3 separate regions of the Homo sapiens genome follow, and regions 2 and 3 are each linked to region 1. The links are contacts of gene promoters, found by promoter capture Hi-C in blood cells and fetal thymus (Javierre and others, 2016). All regions are on one chromosome and are shown on one strand. Each heading gives the region's core, a stretch centred on a gene start or on the middle of the fragment in contact. The rest is flanking DNA. Distances are from core to core; before and after follow the strand shown. Region 1 holds the start of MPEG1 (macrophage expressed 1). Region 2 has its middle 24 kb from the start of OR5AN1. Region 3 has its middle 18 kb from the start of OR5A2.

Evidence for each region. Contacts are between HindIII fragments. The CHiCAGO score rates a contact against its expected background, and 5 or more counts as called.
Region 2: a fragment that was not itself captured here is called in contact with the fragment with the promoter of MPEG1 in region 1 in 2 of 17 cell types (naive B cells and total B cells); the score reaches 9.1 in naive B cells.
Region 3: a contact is called between a fragment that was not itself captured here and the fragment with the promoter of MPEG1 in region 1, in 2 of 17 cell types (total B cells and naive B cells). The highest score is 5.6, in total B cells.

The regions. Positions count from the first base shown.
Region 1 is chr11:59,210,881-59,214,669 of GRCh38, forward strand. It overlaps MPEG1 (macrophage expressed 1), which reads right to left and starts at 2,047. Exons shown (of 1, transcript NM_001039396.2): 1 at 1-2,047. The coding sequence starts at 1,985. It also overlaps the pseudogene RN7SL42P. RefSeq lists an enhancer at 2,024-2,223. The HindIII fragment of the contact is 5,135 bases long and covers 2,033-3,789 here.
Region 2 is chr11:59,380,427-59,384,469 of GRCh38, forward strand. No RefSeq gene overlaps it. Among named protein-coding and RNA genes, the nearest start is that of OR5AN1, 24 kb to the left of the region's middle. The HindIII fragment of the contact is 3,141 bases long and covers 448-3,588 here.
Region 3 is chr11:59,406,422-59,410,603 of GRCh38, forward strand. No RefSeq gene overlaps it. Among named protein-coding and RNA genes, the nearest start is that of OR5A2, 18 kb to the right of the region's middle. The HindIII fragment of the contact is 299 bases long and covers 1,864-2,162 here.

The sequences.
Region 1 (3,789 bases), core at 797-3,296:
ACTGTGACCCCAGCTGCAGCCCCTCCTGACAGACCACCACCATCCCCATGGATGACATTCATGGCCCTCCGCAGCTCTATCGGTTCTCCCAGCCTCCACTGGTGGGTCTGGGAGTCTTTAATCCAGGATCTCGCATTCTCAGAATTGGTCACTATGACAGTATTGGTGGCAGCCTGACTCATGAGGGGTGGCCGGGTGAAAGGTGGGAGCCTGGCAGGGGGCAGGGACCCTCCTGTGAAGAGCCCGGATTTGACGCAATAGGACACTTGGCATCCATCGCTGATGAGGGCTGGGTGCTGGCTGAAGCCCCCGGGGCACTTTTTCAGAGACGGTGCCCCTAAATCTCTGGATATAGCAGGATCTACCAGGGGGTTCCCAACTGTGCAGCTAAAGAACCCGCCAAAGGGGACCGCAAACCTGCTTCCCAACTCATAGTCCTGAGAAACACATACCTTGAGGTTTTCAAAGAGTCTCAGTGGAAAGTAGCCGGCTGGGCATGACTGTGCATTTGTCATGGGGTTTATGCTCTTGCTGCTGAAGAGGCCCCCAAAAAGCAGTCCTGAGTTTTCAGGTACTTGGCTGCTGGCCACACACCAAAAAGCCCTAAATTCAGCTTTTGCCACCTGGAACACATCTTCACACACGGTCTTGCAGAAGACGAGGAGAGTGCACTTTCGATGACACTCCAGGTGGTTGTAACCCTCCTCGTGGATCTGGGATAACAGGTGCACCGGGGAGTAGCCAGAGGGGCAGGAGAAATCACCAGTGAGTGGATTCTTCTGCTCCAACTTTTGGCAGAGGAGGACATCCCTATTCCCTGAGAGCTGAGTGCATTCCTGATAAACCCCACCGAAAGAGAAGTTGGTCATTTTCCCCTCGCAGGAGCCATCATCCGTGTTGGCCTGAAAATTGAAGTTGGGAGAATTGAGATCTGTGCAGCCAGGGTAGGTGTTGAATGTATAATAGCGCTTCACAGCAGTTTCCACTGTCTTTGACACCTTCTTCACCAGGGGGCCTGGCAAGTCAGGTAGCATGTTGGGGTTGATGAAGAAATGCAGCGGCAGGCCAGAGCGGTCGATGGCCACCAGGTGGTTGGTGATACCCTGCTGCCAGGCCTGGAGGGTGATGCCTGGGTAAAAAGGAACCCCTCCAATGCTCTGCACCCTGGAGTTGGTTCGGTTTGAGAGGTAGCTCTTGGTGAGGACATTCTGCGAGGTATAGTTTTCCTCAAATTTGAAGTTCACGGTGTTTTGAAAGGCAAGTCCAGCAGAGGCGGTCACGGCACTACGACTGCTCTGGCTGTCTTGGAGGAAGGAGGCCCTGAGGTGGTCCTCCTGAATAAGAGCAGCCCCAGCGTCGACACTGGTGGTGACGTGGGTGCCATAGTTGAGCACCAGGAGTTCTGCCAGGTAGGTGGCCATCCTCGTCTGGTTGTTCTCTAGACGGTCAGAGATGTCAAGGAGTTCCTTCCTAAAACCTGAGCTTAGCTCTAAAGTTGGGTTGATTTTGACTGTGTAGACGAGGTTTCTTACCTGAACTCGGGTAGTTATAGCTTGGTCCTTCACTTGGAGGGTCTTCATCCTCTGGAACTCAGTGGAAAACTTGCCATTGACTTTGGAAAAAAGAGAGAGTTCTGTGTTGATGGAGTAGGAGGTGCTACTCTGGTAATTTGCCCAGGATTCCAGGATTTCTGAGTTCATCTCCAGGTTGCTCTGTTTCTGGGGAATGGTGAAGATTTCATCAGGGATGATATACTGTCCATCCTCTGTTGTCCTGCAGTTGGAGTAAGTCAATTCCATAACTCGTCCCATGTCCACATTCCGCAGATTGTCCCAGCCCCCTCCAGGTAGGACTTCCAGGACAGGTAGTTTCAAGGCATTCTTGCATTTTTGAACTCCAACTTCGTCCATCTCTCCCGAAGGCTTGCCTGATTTAGCCCATGCTGCCGCTGCCCAGAAGAGGATGGTGGCCCTGAAGTTGTTCATGGCTCAGACAGCCCCAGCCACTCACCAGCCCTACACAGCGGCCAGCAAGCTTTGGGCAAACTAAGATGGAGAAAACAGAAGCAGATGATGAAGCGGAAAACTCATGAGTTCTCTAAAAGCTACAAGTTCCTCTTTAAGCTAATTTAATGACAAAATGGGGAAACGAGAGTTGGTTGGAATATTAAAGACCATCAGGTCTTTGAAGAATTTATGCCGTACTAAACATGCAAACACACCCCTACATGCCTAACAGGTAGCTATCCTAATTTTTCCCCCAGCTCTGGCTGGTTACTCTGCTGCAGGGGTGTGCACTTAGAAAAAAATCCCGACCCCACACCCTACTGCTTCCTCCACCAGAAAGTTTGGCTTTGCTTTTTGCTCATTCTCTTGGACTTGATGTTTCATATTTTCCCTGACTGCTGTCTCTTGGGACTCCATTATCAGTTTTCTTTTACTATAAATGCAGAGGCAAATGACCACACCACCCTTACTGAAACACCCTGGCTCCACCATACCTATGCAAGCTGTTAGTCAAGGCCAACCCTGGGTTTCCTCTTTGCCTGAGGGTGGAGGCTGTTTCCACAAAAGAAAGGAGTGAAACTCTTGGACACTTGTCCTGTGGGTTTCACTGTTATGAACCATAGCAATTCTGTCTTTGGGGATGGCATTGTCTGGAGCACAGCTGACAGGGCCTGAAGAGGATTCGGTTGCAATATGCTGGGAAACCCCAATTTGCATTGTCCTAAGCATTCAAAGCGAGGGCAAGGAACTCCTACACTGTGTTGTTTTCATTCAGATAGAAATGTTCAAGACAAAACCACACTATTATCTAGATTTTGATTTATCAACAGCAGACAGGGGCCAAGGAACATATGTGTATGTGTACACACATTTATATATCCTCTGTGTGTGTGCATTTTGTATGAAGTTGGTACCTGTTATACCTTTAATTTTTTGTTCCATTGCTAAGTGTGTGTAATCAGTTTAGGTGGATAAAAAAGAATGTGGCTCTTCACTACCCAATATTTTTTCTAAAAGCAAAAATTCATTTGCTATATCATTAGAAGAATATAATTACATGAGTTTCTTTTCAAGTTCCAATGCCAGCTCTATTAGAGCCCATAATTTAAAACAATGGTGACAGGTTTGATTGAAACCCAACTCTGTTAATTCTTTGGGACAATTAGGCTATGTCTTAGTATGCTTAGTGGTAGCCAGGGAATCCAGAGGACTTAGTGAAGCTCCCAGTTGCATCCTTAACATTCCCAAGATTATACCATGAACTAGATACAGTACTGAGACTGAAAAAGTCATGTTGCAATTCACAGGTATCACTACACCATCACCTGTATGCATCCTGGAAGGAAGGTTCCAAGGAGTTGAATTCCTCTGTTGGTTATTAATGCAGCAAAGAAGTGTTTTTAGAAAGAATGAGGCTAGTTATCTTGCTTCCCAGGCTGGGCTTCACCAGTTATTATCAAAACCATGATGGTGTTCTATAAATCTAGAAATACTGCATTCCGGGTATATTTTTTTTTCCAAGACAGGGTCTTGCTTATTGCCCAGGCTTGAGTGCAGTAGCTATTCACAGGCATGGTCCCACTACTAATCAGCATAGGAGTTTTGACCTGCTCCATTTCCAACCTGGACCCGTTTAGCCCTCCTTAGGCAACCTGGTGATTTGCTCCAAGGAGGCCACCATATTGATGCTGAGCTTAGTGCAGACACCCAACTGGCATAGCACACTACAGCCCAGAACTCATGGATTCAAGCAATCCTCCCACATCAGCTTCCCAGGAATCTG
Region 2 (4,043 bases), core at 768-3,267, 170 kb after region 1:
AGTCTGTATGTGCCTTTACAGATAAGATGAGTTTGTTGTAGACAGCTTATGGTTAAGTCATGTTTTTTAACCCATCTTACCAATGTATACCTTTTAAAAGCAGTGTTTAATTCTTTTATGTTCAAGGTTAGTATTGATAGGTGAGGTTTTGTTCCTGTCATATTATTAATTGTTGTCTAGTTATTTTATACATTCTCTTTTCTCTGTTTTTCTCATTGTTCATTTTTGGTTTTGTGGAATTCTGTAGTGGTGTCATTGTGTTCCTTTCACTTCCCCTTTTGTATTATTGCATTAACAATGAGTTTTATGTTTGTGTGTTTTCATGATGGTGAATACCATTCTTTCACTTTCAAGTTTAGGAATCCTTTGATCATTTCTTCTATTTCCAATCTAGTCGTGGCAAATTCTATCAGCATTTGCTTATCTGGAAAAGAGTATTTCTCCTAAAGCTTAATTCTTGCTGTATACAGAATTCTTGGCTACTAGTTTGCTTTTTTTCTTTCAACACTTGGAATACGTCATTTCACTACCTTCTTACCAGCAAAGTTTCTGCTGATAAGTCTGCTGTTATTCTGAAGTAGTTTCCTTTGTAGATGACTAGATGTTTTTCTCTTGCCAATTTTAGAATTTGTTCATTCATATGATTTTAGATAGTCTAATAATATGCTATGGCAAACTCATTTAGGCATTGTAATTTTCTGGGGATCACTGAGCTTCTTTTATTCAGATGTCTGAATTTCTTGATACACTTGGGAGGTTTTTATACATTATTTCATTAATAAATTTCTTAACCTTTTTTCCTCAGGAATACCAATAATTTATTATTTAGGTCATTTTAGATAGTCTTAAAAGTCTTGAAGGCTTTGTTTATTCTATTTTATTTTTATCTGACTGTATTATATTTTTAAAACCTATCTTCAAGTTCTGATTCTTCCTTGTGCTTAATCTAGTCTATTCTTGAAGGCTTCAAATGTATTTTGTAATTCTTGCAATAAAATTTTCAGTTCTAGAATTACTGTTTTTTTTTAAGATATCTATCTCCTTGGTAAATTACTCATTCATATCTTAAAATGATTTTCTGATTTCTTTGTATTGATTTTCAGATTTCTCTTGAAGTTCATTGAGCTTCTTTAAAATCAATATTTTGAATTTTTATCTGGAAATTTTAGAATTTATTTGTGTTCAGCACTTATTGCTGGAGAATTATTGTGGTTTTTTGAGGGTGTGGTTTTTTATTATACTTGAAGTTTTAGGGTACAAGTGCACAATGTGCAGGTTTGTTACATATGTATACATGTGCCATGTTGGTGTGCTGCACCCATTAACTTGTCATTCAACATTAGGTATATCTCCTAATGCTATCCCTCCCCCCTCCCCCCACCCCACAACAGGTCCCGGTGTGTGATGTTCCCCTTCCTGTGTCCATGTGTTCTCATTGTTCAATTCCCACCTATGAGTAAGAACATGCAGTGTTTGATTTTTTGTCCTTGTGATAGTTTGCTGAGAATGATGGTTTCCAGCTTCATCCATGTCCCTACAAAGGACATGAACTCATCATTTTTTATGGCTGCATAGTAATCAATGGTGTATATGTGCCACATTTTCTTAATCCCGTCTATCATTGTTGGACATTTGGGTTGTTTCCAAGTCTTTGCTATTGTGAATAGTGCCACAATAAACATACATGTGCATGTGTCTTTACAGCAGCAGGATTTATAATCCTTTGGGTATATACCCAGTAATGGGTTTACTGGGTCAAATGGTATTTCTAGTTCTAGATCCCTGAGGAATCGCCACACTGACTTCCACAATGGTTGAACTAGTTTACAGTCCTACCAACAATGTAAAATTGTTCCTATTTCTCCACATCCTCTCCGGCACCTGTGGTTTCCTGACTTTTTAATGATTGCCATTCTAACTGGTGTGAGATGGTATCTCATTGTGGTTTTGATTTGCATTTCTCTATGGCCAGTGATAATGGGCATTTTTTCATGTGTCTTTTGGCTGCATAAATGTCTTCTTTTGAGAAGTGTCTGTTCATATACTTCACCCACTTTTTGATGGGGTTGTTTGTTTTTTCTTATAAATTTGTTTGAGTTCATTGTAGATTCTGGATATTAGCCCTTTGTCAGATGAGTAGATTGCAAAATTTTCTCCCATTCTGTAGGTTGCTATTGACTCTGATGGTAGTTTCTTTTGCTGTGCAGAAGCTCTTTAGTTTAATTAGATCCCATTTGTCAATTTTGGCTTTTGTTGCCATTCCTTTTGGTGTTTCAGTCATGAAGTCCTTGCCCATGCCTATGTCCTGAATGGTATTGGCTAGGTTTTCTTGTAGGGTTTTTATGGTTTCAGGTCTCACATTTAAGTCTTTAATCCATCTTGAATTAATTTTTGTATAAGGTGTAAGGAAGGGATCCAGTTTCAGCTTTCTACATATGGCTAGCCAGTTTTCCCAGCACCATTTATTAAATAGGGAATCCTTTCCCCAGTTCTTGTTTTTGTCAGCTTTGTCAAAGATCAGATGGTAGTAGATATGTGGCATTATTTCTGAGGGCTCTGTTCTGTTCCATTGGTCTATATCTCTGTTTTGGTACCAGTACCATGCTGTTTTGTTTATTGTAGCCCTGTAGTATAGTTTGAAGTCAGGTAGTGTGATGCCTCCAGCTTTGTTCTTTTGGCTTAGGATTGACTTGGCGATGTGGGCTCTTTTTTGGTTCCATATGAACTTTAAAGTAGTTTTTTCCAATTCTGTGAAGAAAGTCATTGGTAGCTTGATGGGGATGGCATTGAATCTATAAATTACCTTGGGCAGTATGGCCATTTTCACAATATTGATTCTTCCTACCCATGAGCATGGAAAGTTCTTCCATTTGTTTGTATCCTCTTTTATTTCATTGAGTAGTGGTTTGTAGTTCTCCTTGAAGAGGTCCTTCATGTCCCTTGTAAGTTGGATTCCTAGGTATTTTACTCTCTTTGAAGCAATTGTGAATGGGAGTTCAATCATGATTTGGCTGTCTGTTTGTCTGTTATTGGTGTATAAGAATGCTTGTGATTTTTGCACATTGGTTTTGTATCCTGAGACTTTGCTGAAATTACCTATCAGCTTAAGGAGATTTTGGGCTGAGACGATGTGGTTTTCTAGATATACAATTATGTCATCTGCAAACAGGGACAGTTTGACTTCCTCTTTTCCTAATTGAATACCCTTTATTTCCTTCTCCTGCCTGATTGCCCTGGCCAGAACTTCCAACACTATGTTGAATAGGAGTGGTGAGAGAGGGCATCCCTGTCTTGTGCCAGTTTTCAAAGGGAATGCTTCCAGTTTTTGCCCATTCAGTATGATATTGGCTGTGGGTTTGTCATAGATAGCTCTTATTATTTTGAGATACATCCCATCAATACCTAATTTATTGAGAGTTTTTAGCATGAAGGTTGTTGAATTTTGTCAAAGGCCATTTCTGCATCTATTGAGATAATCATACGGTTTTTGTCATTGGTTCTTTTTATATGCTGGGTTACGTTTATTGATTTTCATATGTTGAACAGCTTTGCACCCCAGGGATGAAGTCCACTTGATCATGGTGGATAAGCTTTTTGATGTGCTGCTGGATTCGGTTTGCCAGTATTTTATTGAGGATTTTTACATCGATGTTCATCAGGGATATCAGTCTAAAATTCTCTTTTTTTATTGTGTCTATGCCAGGCTTTGGGATCATGATGATGCTGGCTTCGTAAAATGAGTTAGGGAGGATTCTCTCTTTTTCTACTGATTGGAATAGTTTCAGAAAGAATGGTACCAGCTCCTCCTTGTACCTCTGGTAGAATTCGGCTGTGAATCCATCTGGTCCTGTACTTTTTTTGGTTGGTAAGCTATTAATTATTGCCTCAATTTCAGAGCCTGTTATTGGTCTATTCAGAGATTCAACTCCTTCCTTGTTTAGTCTTGGGAGGTTGTATGTGTCCAGGAATTTATCCATTTCTTCTAGGTTTTCTGGTTTATTTGCATAGAGGTGTTTATACTATTCTCTGATGTTTGTTTGTAT
Region 3 (4,182 bases), core at 763-3,262, 200 kb after region 1:
AAGAATCAATATCATGAAAATGGCCATACTGCCCAAGGTAATTTATAGATTCAATGCCATCCCCATCAAGCTACCGATGACTTTCTTCACAGAATTGGAAAAAACTACTTTAAAGTTCATATGGAACCAAAAAAGAGCCCGCATCGCCAAGTCAATCCTAAGCCAAAAGAACAAAGCTGGAGGCATCACACTACCTGACTTCAAACTATACTACAAGGCTACAGTCACCAAAACAGCATGGTACTGGTACCAAAACAGAAATATTGATCAATGGAACAGAACAGAGCCTTCAGAAATAACACCAAATATCTACAACCATCTGATCTTTGACAAACCTGAGAAAGACAAGCAATGGGGAAAGGATTCCCTATTTAATAAATGGTGCTGGAAAAACTAGCTAGCCATATGTAGAAAGCTGAAACTGGATCCCTTCCTTACACCTTATACAAAAATCAATTCAAGATGGATTAAAGACTTAAACGTTAGACCTAAAACCATAAAAACCCTAGAAGAAAACCTAGGCATTACCATTCAGGACATAGGCATGGGCAAGGACTTCATGTCTAAAACACCAAAAGCAATGGCAACAAAAGACAAAATTGATAAATGGGATCTAATTAAACTAAAGAGCTTCTGCACAGCAAAAGAAACTACCATCAGACTGAACAGGCAACCTACAAAATGGGAGAAAATTTTCGCAACCTACTCATCTGACAAAGGGCTAATATCCAGAATATACAATGAACTCAAACAAATTTACAAGAAAAAACAAACAACCCCATCAAAAAGTGGGCAAAGGACATGAACAGACACCTCTCAAAAGAAGACATTTATGCAGCCAAAAAACACATGAAAAAATGCTCACCATCACTGGCCATCAGAGAAATGCAAATCAAAACCACAATGAGATATCATCTCACGTCAGTTAGAATGGCAATCATTAAAAAGTCAGGAAACAACAGGTGCTGGAGAGGATGTGGAGAAATAGGAACACTTTTACACTGTTGGTGGGACTGTAAACTAGTTCAACCATTGTGGAAGTCAGTGTGGTGGTTATTCAGGGATCTAGAACTAGAAATACCATTTGATCCAGCCATCCCATTACTGGGTATATACCCAAAGGACTATAAATCATGCTGTTATAAAGACACATGCACACGTATGTTTATTGTGGCACTATTCACAAAAGCAAAGACTTGGAACCAACCCAAATGTCCAACAATGACAGACTGGATTAAGAAAATGTGGCACATATACACCATGGAATACTATGCAGCCATAAAAAATGATGAGTTCATGTCCTTTGTAGGGACATGGATGAAATTGGAAATCATCATTCTCAGTAAACTATTGCAAGAACAAAAAACCAAACACCGCATATTCTCACTCATAGGTGGGAATTGAACAATGAGAACATATGGACACAGGAAGGGGAACATCACACTCTGTGGACTGTTGTGGGCTGGGGGGAGAGGGGAGGGATAGCATTGGGAGATATACCTAATGCTAGATGACGAGTTAGTGGGTGCAGCGCACCAGCATGGCCCATGTATACATATGTAACTAACATGCACATTGTGCACATGTACCCTAAAACTTAAAGTATAATAATAAAAAAAAAGAGTTCTGCATGCCATGACTCATCCTGAAAAAGATAAAATAACCCAAATTAAATACATATTGGTGTGGTGACTTTTAAATTGCTAAAATAGTTTATGACCAATGTTTGGTTTGTCAAACCCATATTCCTGGGAAGATAATCAAAGCTTCAGGTACATTTGGCTACCTAATGGGCCATTTAAACATGTATAGAGAGACTTCATTTGATTATCATTTTCAATGCATGTTTTCCAGTTGTATAAAAGCTTTCCCATGCAAGAGGTCTGATGTTATAACAGTATATTATGATGTCACAGTATATTCTCACCAGGTAAAGAAAGATTTTTATGGTTCACTGACTGGGGACAATCAACCCCTTCACAATCTAGAACCTGAAGATTGGATCTTCTGAAAACATCAGAAAAAGACTGCCCTTGCCATCCATATTGCAGCAAACTTTGAAACCTTGAACTTTGGGTTAATAATCTTACAACTGAGAAAGGCCCCTCCACACTCTTAGAACCTCACATGCATTGGAACCCTTAAGGTAAAGCTAACTGGGAAGCTTCTCCTCAGAAGAAGATGGCATCCTTGATGTGAACAGCTTCTCCTGAGATCATGGATCAAGACATCTGTACTATAATGATGCTTATTTTTGAATATTTTCCCTTGCTTATGCCTCCATGAACAATAGAAGTGAAAAGGGGGTCTGTTGTGTGCACTCATGGGGTATATTTTTATTTGTGAAGGATTTTGCAGCCAGTCTTTTACATGGATAACCTTACACAGATAAAAGATAAAGGCCCCAATGTAGGTGAGAAATTTTAATGGTACATACATTGCCCCATAATCAGAAAGGGAACAGTGGTTCACTCCTCCTAACCTACATCATGGCTTAAAGAGAACATTGCCAGGAGGCCTTCACTCTTCTAGAAGGGCATCAATTGTTAAGTCCTCTTTCCCATGGTTTGGAGTGATAAAGGAAATGATTAGAAATGTGTCTCTCATGATAGGCTCTATAAAAGATTCTACTGTAAAGGCTATCATTACACAACAGACTTTACATTCTCTTGTGAAAGTTATGCTAAATAATAGAATTGCTCTAGATTACTTACTGGCTAAACAGAAATATCTGTGCAGCCACTGCCATTTGTGGCCTATGGTGAAATACATCAAATGTAGATTATAGAGATTCAGTTGTAGGGGGTTAATGAAGAGACTGCTTACTTAAGTGAGTGAACTCTAGCTAGTTCTTTGATCTATTTGATTTCAGGTAGTTTGGTTTATGGGGACTCTGAGTAAGAAGCATAATCCAAAATCTTGGTATTATCCTCCTGATAGTCATAATAGCAGTCTTCTTGGTGGGCTATGTTCTCTCAAAAGTTTTAAAGGTTTGCATGCAGCCGTCTCTGGAATGTCTCTTCAACTGGAATGATAAGAGCTGACAGAAATGTGTGACCATGAGGACACTGTAACCTATGAATGACATGCTGAGACCAGAAACCAAAAACGACGGTAACTGAGAGTGGAGCTAAGGCCCTAAGTTTTGTCACACTCTCACCTACATGAGAACCTGACCAAAAAAGGGGAATTTTTAAACAAAATTATGGGAGGCCATTGTTTTGGACTGAGCTCATGCAGTAGGCCCCAAGAAACCAGACCAAACCAAAATGGAGTCACTCATGCTAAATGTGACATAATCAAACTAAGACTTTAAGGAAACACCTAGATCCTACAACAGACAAGGGGTTTTTTCATGTAAACAGGACATTCCAGCATAAGGAGGAACCTTCTACTGAATCCTTGTTCCTACTTTATAAAACCCACTCTTTTACTGTTTCCCAGTGGGTTTCAATACCAAATAAGTATCTTTACAATGGTGGTAGTGACATCAACAACTAAAGTTTCAGTTAATCTCTCAAAATTGAGAGGATAACCAAAGGGGGGAATTGTTAAATCAATTTTAGCATAAAGCTGCCTCCTTACAGATTTTAGGTTCATCCTAAAGGTTTTTCTGTAAATTGTGAACTATAAAGAGTGGAGGTGTAAATAGACCGTAGCCTACACTTGTGCTGATCACCGAGTTTTGGCCAATCAAGTATAGCCAACTGTTCGAACCGTGTTCAAATAAGGCAAACGCTGATATGTAACCAATCCAGTTGTTTCTGTATTTCACTTTTGTTTTCTGTAGGTCACTTTCCTTTCTCTGTTCATAAATCTTCTTCCACCACGTAACTGTGCTGAAGTCTCTGAGCCTACTCTGGTTCAAGAAGCAGCTCAATTCATGAATTTTTCATTGCTCAATTAAACTGCTTTAAATTTAATTTGGCTGAAGTTTTTGTTTTATCGGGAGTCAAAGAGGAAGAAGTGAGTAAAGTGTGCAGGAAAGTTTGGAAAGATAAATAATATTCAGCCACCCCCACTTGCCAAGCATGAACAGTTTCACCTCCTTCCTCCCTGCCTTACTAGCTCTTTATCTTCTCTCTCCAGATTGAATAAGAAGAGAAGAAATCCTTATTTTTCAGCCCAAGACACTAAGCGGGATTAAGCCTATGTCATTTGCTCTTCAAAGTCTGGGTTTTC